Regions from separate parts of the Homo sapiens genome. Here region 2 is linked to region 1. Evidence: promoter capture Hi-C in 16 types of primary human blood cells and fetal thymus (Javierre and others, 2016). All regions are on one chromosome and are shown on one strand. Each heading gives the region's core, a stretch centred on a gene start or on the middle of the fragment in contact. The rest is flanking DNA. Distances are from core to core; before and after follow the strand shown.

The links. The method cuts DNA at HindIII sites, captures the fragments that hold promoters and counts their contacts. A CHiCAGO score of 5 or more calls a contact.
Region 2: a contact is called between a fragment that was not itself captured here and the fragment with the promoter of CYP4F2 in region 1, in 1 of 17 cell types (M2 macrophages). The highest score is 5.2, in M2 macrophages.

What each region holds. Positions count from the first base shown.
Region 1 is chr19:15,895,929-15,899,392 of GRCh38, reverse strand. It overlaps CYP4F2 (cytochrome P450 family 4 subfamily F member 2), which reads left to right and starts at 1,319. Exons shown (of 13, transcript NM_001082.5): 1 at 1,319-1,367; 2 at 1,781-1,979. The coding sequence starts at 1,782. The HindIII fragment of the contact is 3,476 bases long and covers 1-2,530 here.
Region 2 is chr19:14,847,631-14,851,116 of GRCh38, reverse strand. OR7A10 (olfactory receptor family 7 subfamily A member 10) reads left to right here and starts at 2,195. Exons shown (of 2, transcript NM_001005190.2): 1 at 2,195-2,617. The HindIII fragment of the contact is 5,321 bases long and covers 1-3,486 here.

The sequences.
Region 1 (3,464 bases), core at 70-2,569:
AGCATGGCACATGTATACATATGTAACTAACCTGCACATTGTGCGCATGTACCCTAAAACTTAAAGTATAATAATAATAATAAAAAAATCCAAAAAAAAAGAAAAGAAGAGAAAAGAAAGGGGCTCCCACAGTGCAGCGGTGGGCTGAAGGGCTCCTCAAGTGCCGCCAAAGTGGGAGCCCAGGCAGAGGAGGCGCCGAGAGCGAGTGAGGGCTGTGAGGACTGCCAGCATGCTGTCACCTCTCAGTGGGAGCAGGTGTGACAAGAGTTGGGCAAATCAGACCTTTAATCCACCCTGATAGGCTGGAGTGTGGGCTTATGGCATTTCTCCTTTGACCCAATTAACCTCCACTCCCAATGTATCTCTGTGCAGAAGGCTCAGCTAGGTGTATCAGCCATTGTAAATCCTCAACATAAATTATAATTTAACCTAGAATACAGAGACTAGGTAGCAGGAGGAGAGGAAATGTAGAGATACTAATCTCTTCTCCCTTATCAGAAAGAAACCTAGCATAAGAAATTTCACGCTTAATGGGCCAAAGAGTAAATCAGAAAACTCCATGGGTGATGGTATGCTCATGGTGGTGGTGGTGGTGATGGGGAATTATTTGCCCTCCTGTGACCTCCCTTGGATTAATTTCTCCCCAGGACAATGGGAAAAATCATTTAATCCTTGGAGTTTTTTTTTTTTTTTTTTTTTTTTTTTTTTTTTTTTTTGCTTGAGAGTGACTCTGATCCTGTTTCTGATGGTCATGTTCCTCAGCATCATACTGAGTAAGTCACTGGCCTTGTAGCATCTGGAGTGATTGGAGTGATCCAAGATCCCTAGTTCCCATGTCACAAATGAGGATCCCACATATCTGGGACAGAGATGGAACATTATTTCTGGGTGTGTCTATCTAATCTATTCATCCTATCTATCTAATTTCTCATCTATATATATATTTGCCTACCCATCCATCCATCAATCCATCTTAGCTGTACGTTTATCCATTCCATCTATTTATCCTATTATCTATGTATCTATCTATCATCTATTAATAGCTATCTATCCATCTGTCTAATATATCCATTATCTATATCTACTTTATCTATCTACCTAATGTATCCATCCTATCTACTCTATCTATCTGTGCATCTACCCATCCATCTGGACCCTGAGCTGATTCCTCTGCACCCAGCTGGCCTGACGCCAGGTGTTGATTGGCTGCCCAGGCTCAGGAGACACATCCAGGCTGCAGGGATTGGTTGGCCCAGCCCAACCCAGCCAGCCCTCCCACAGCCTTTGCTATATCAAGGGCCAGGGTCAAAGGCCTCCCAGCAGACAGAGAGAGGAGGTTGTCTGGGACAGACTGCTCCTGACAGAAGGTGCCAGGCTGGGGGTGGCAGGCCTGGGGGGGGTCCTGGCCTGGGATGGAGAGGGGCACTGCCCAAGGCCCACGCAGCTCCTGGGTGCTGGCCTGGAGGATGGGTGGTTTCCGAGTAACTGAAACCAAGCCCCTGGCAACCTCACAGTGATTCAGGCTGGGCCTTTCTGGACTTTAATCAGTCTCTCTCTCTCTTTCCCATTCTAAGTGCTTACTAGGGAACTGGAGGCCACTTGGCTGCTGGTTTTGGTTGGGCCTTTCTGGACTTTACCTCTCAGCCCCTTTTTACCCATCCCTGAGCCCTCCCTGCTCTACCTCCGGCACTGCCCGTCCCTGCCTCTCCACTGTCCCTGGAGGTCCCTGGGCCGTTCTCTGGGCCTCAGGATCTCACCGTCCATCCCGTCTGCCCTGCAGGATGTCCCAGCTGAGCCTGTCCTGGCTGGGCCTCTGGCCAGTGGCAGCATCCCCTTGGCTGCTCCTCCTGCTGGTCGGGGCCTCCTGGCTCCTGGCCCATGTCCTGGCCTGGACCTACGCCTTCTATGACAACTGCCGCCGCCTTCGGTGTTTCCCACAACCCCCAAGACGGAACTGGTTTTGGGGACACCAGGGCATGGTGAGTGTGGCAGCAGGATGGGTCTAGGTCTCAGGATGGATGGACTTCCTGAGGGGTACGAGGCTTAGGGAGTGGGGGTGAAGGGGTGGGCTGGGATCTGGGGTGGCAGAGAAGCAGAGGAGGCATCTTACTCATTCCTCTGCTTATTCATTTCTGTGAGGTGCCTACGCAAGCCCTTCTCACTTCCTTGTCCTCCCACTCCAGGCCTGCATTGAATCCTTTTCCTGCCTGTCTTCCCACATTAATGCACCTCTGCGGGGCTCCTGGGCAGAGGGTTGGCTGCACAGAGAGGCGAGTCCCTGGCATTCCCACATTCTCCATTGCTGGACTCGAGGCTTCTTATGCCCACTGTCCAGGGTCCTCTCCTTGCCTGGACTATTTCCTGTTATGAGGGTACAGCTGGGCCAGAGGAGAGGCATGGGCCGTCTCCCACTTCCACTACACCCGAAGGCACCTTTCTCTTATATTCTTCTTCTTATCTCCCTCTTATCAATGAGACCTGTTGCCAAACCCAGATAAAAGTTGGCCACTCACTTCACCTTTCAGAAGCTTTCCTTGGCCTTTCTCCTCCCCGTGACCTTGCCCTCTGACTTAGACCGCTCTCCTCTTTGGGGAATGTGGTCTTAGTCTGCTCATTTGCAAATGGCAGGATTGATGGATGTGTCCACAGATAAAGTGGAAGGGTGCACAGGACACACTAGCACAGAGCCTGCTGCAGAAGCTGCTCCCAGGTGGGAGCCATTGTCCTGATGGACAGTTAGAGTCACCTCTGCTCCACTAGTGGCTGCTGAAAAGGGAAGGTCTCCCATGTGCAGAACCTTCTCCATGGGAGGAACTGGAGCCTCTGTGGATCAGCCAGGACATGAAGGCATGTGGGGACCAGCCTTAGGGACATGTCCTGAGGCGATACTGCTCCCCACAAATCTCCCCTGTGAGGACCTCCCCATATAGCTGCCTCTGGGCTGAAATGACTCCCAGAAAAAGAAAATCCTTCCTCTCAAGATAACTGGGCCTCTGTGAGTGGACAGTGCGTCTTCTCCCTCTGCCCTGGGATGCACCCTTGGGACTTGGAGATGGACCCAAGAGAGATAGAGCAGGAGGAATGTGGATAGATAGATAGATAGAGCAGGAGGAATGTAGATAGATAGATAGATAGATAGATAGATAGATAGATAGATAGCTAATAGGATAGATAGATAGATGCACAGATAGGATGGATAGATGGATGGATGGATGGATGGACAGGCACGTAGGTAGATAGATAATAGAATAGATGGATGCATGGACACATGGATGCACAGATAGCATGGATGGATGGATGGATGGATGGATGGATGGATGGATAGATAGATAGACAAATAATAGGACATATGGATGCATGGACACACGGATGCACAGATAGGATGGATGGATGGATGGATGATGGATGGATGGGTAGATAGAGTAGATAGGATGGATAGATTATGTAGACAGATGGAGTAGATA
Region 2 (3,486 bases), core at 48-2,547, 1.0 Mb after region 1:
AATAGATAAAGAAAATGCAGTACATATACACAATTGAATACTATTCAGCCATAAAAAAGAATAAAATTATGACATTTGCAGCAACATGGATGGGACTGGAAGCTGCTATGTTAAGTGAAATAAGCCAGGCACAGAAAGAAAATAATGCTTGTTCTTATTCATATGAAGGAGCTAAAGAAGTTGACCTCATGGAGACAGAGAATAGAATTGTAGATACAAGAGATATAGAAATTTGAAAAAAGAGGGGGAAATTGAGGTGGAAGTTTTGTTGCAGATACCCTGAGTGTATGATTGAGAAGAGATTGGAGTCAGGAGAGAATCCAGGGTACCCAGTAGGGGCCGCATGAAATGATGTACAAGAAGAAACGCCAGCATTCTTTTCAGTGGCAGACAGGACTGTCTCCACATGTGCAGGAAAAACAACCAACTTCTTCATATGTACAGAAAAAACAACCAACTTTTCTTCTTCCAGTCACCCTATGATACTTTTTAGATTTTTCTGTATGTGAGCCATTCTCCTATGGAGGTCTTCCAATTTGTCAAGACTTTATGTGTCTGTGTGTGTGTGTGTGTCTGTGTATGTTTGTATGTTTCTGTGTCTGTGTGTGTGTAGCCCCATCAAAAAAGTAAGAATGTACAATAACTGCTTATTAGAAAGTACACATGTAATATAACTGATTTTGATCCCCATGTAGATCTTGTATACATATGACAGGTTACTAATATTATAAAATTTATCGGAATAGTATAGCAAGTTATGGATTGCAATCAATTGCAATTAACAGAACATCAAATGAAAATTGTAACTCTTAATTTGCTAAGTGATACACAATATAAAAAGCTGTAAATTGTGACCTCCAAACCATAAAATGGGTCAGGAGTGAGGGGTGGAATAAAAATGTTGAGTTTAGATATGTGGTCAATGTTATCAGCAAACTACAGATCCAACAAAGTGTTCATATGCAGAATTATGTCCAGAATATCCTGAATCCAAGATGTGAAATCAATCAACGTGTCCATCAATGAATGAATGGATTTTAAAATATTATATAATTTCGTTATGTATTATACACACACACACAATAGAATACTATTCAGCCATAAACAAGAAGGAAATTCTGTCATTTGAGACAACATGGTTGAGTCTGGAGAACATTATGTTAAGTGAAATAAGACAGTCACAGAAAGACAAATACCATCTGATCTCACTCATATGAAATTGAAACAAGTCGATCTCACAGAATTATTGAGTAGAATGGTGGTTACCAGAGGCTGGGGCAGTTGCAGCGTGAGGAGTGGGGAGATGTTTGTCCAAGGATACACAATTGTAGTTAGGAGGAATACATTCAAGAGATCTATTGTACAGCAAGGTGACTATATTTAATGATGACATATTGTATTCTTGAAAAATGCCAGCCGGATCACGAGGTCAAGAGATCGAGACCATCCTGGCCAACATGGTGAAACCCCATCTTCACTAAAAATACAAAAATTAGCCGGGTGTGGTGGTGGGTGCCTGTAATCCCAGCTACTCGGGAGACTGAAGCAAGGAGAATCGCTTGAACCCTGGAGGTGGAGGTTGCAGTGAGCCAAGATCGTGCCACTGTACCCCAGCCTGGCAACAGAGCAAGACTCTGTCTCAAAAAAAAAAAAAGAGAAGAAGAAAGAAGAAGAAGAAGAAGAAGAAGAAGAAGAAGAAGAAGAAGAAGAAGAAGAAGAAGAAGAAGAAGAAGAAGAAGAAGAAGAAGAAGAAAAGAAGAGGAAGAAAAGAAAAATGCCAAAGGTGGATTTAAAGGAATCTCACTACGAATATGATAGCTACATGAGATAATGCATATATTAATTAGCTAGATTTAACCATTCCACAATGTATATATACTTCAAAGCATCATGTTGGACACCATAAATATATACAATTATATCTGTCCATTTAAATAAATAAATACTTTTTTTAAAAAATTAATGAGATCACTCTTATAAGGTGCTAATCTAAGGGTAACTTGCATGAAAAGATGTAAATGTATCTCTTACAATTATCAAATGTTTTATAAATGAAGGATTAAATGACGGCTCTTAACCTGTGTTCTTACCACAAGTCAATGCTTTGGAGACTCAAGGGGCTTAGTCAAGAAAGATTCCTCAGTTTAAACTTCGGAGGAAACTTTCCCTCAGGGTTGGAGGGAAGTGATGGGAGGTTAGACCTTTGGAAGGCAGACAAATCCATGGAGAAGGAATAATAACGACTCGATTCGCCTGATGTTTAATCTGATGTCTTGGGAACTGAGTATGCAAGAAAAAAATTTCTTTCCATGAAGAGCAATGTCCCACAGGGACTGAATGTGATCAGGGGTTGAATAACAGGAGGAAATGTCTCCAATGAGCAGGCATATGAAGCTGTAAATTTCTCCGCTGCAGGTGTCCCTCAGCATATGCAACCTTGGGCTGGATGGGACATCCTTGTTTCTTTCGGAGTCTATATCTGCTGGCTCAGGGGTACTGATTCTTTCCTTTCTCCTACTGTCTTGTCTTGGGACACAGCCTCAGTCTCCACCATCAACCATCCAGGGAGGAATTTGCACTTCTAGATTGAGACCTTCATTTCAGAAAACCCAACAGGGTGAGTCCAATAGGTACCGTAGGAAAGGATCAGGGAGATTGCAAGTTGTGAACATAGACCCGAGATCTCGAAAGAGCCAATCCTAGCTGCAACAGAGTGGAGACGCTGCTGTGGGTATTTGCTTGGTGAATGAATTGATTCATATCTTCATTTATGAAGCTAAGAAGAGAAGTGCATCTTGAACTCAGCAATGGAGAATGATAGCCGACAATCAAGTAAGGGTAATAAAAGCCCAATTAGAAGAGAAAATGTGGGGTCTAAAGTAGTTCCAGTGAAAGCAGAACATCTGCCCAAGCATCACTGCAATTAAGTGGGAAAGAGAAGTAGGGTATTAGCTATGGGGGATACGAAAGGAAGTGAGGGCATTTTTTTTTTTTTAGACAGAGTCTTACTCTGTCGCCCAGGCTGGAGTGCAGTGGCACAATCTTGGCTCACTGCAACCTCTGCCTCCCGGATTCAAGCAATTCTCCTGCCTCAGCCTCCCAAGTAGCTGGGATTACAGGTGCTCACCACCACACCCAGCTAAATTTGGTATTTTTAGTAGAGACAGGGTTTCACCATGTTGGCCAGGATGGTCTCAATCTCTTAACCTCGTGATCCACCCACCTCGGCCTCCCAAAGTGCTGGGATTACAGGCATGAGCCACCTGGCCCCGCCAATTTTTCATTTTTAAGAAGGGCATATTTGGTCCGGCGTGGTGGCTCACGCCTGTAGTCCCAGCACTTTGGGAGGCCGAGGTAGGCGGATCACAAGGTCGGGAGATCGAGACCATCCTAGCTAACACAGTGAAACCCCATATCTACTAAAAATACAAAAAACAAATTAGCCTGGCGTGGTGGCGGGCGCTTGTAGTCCCAGCTACTCGGGAG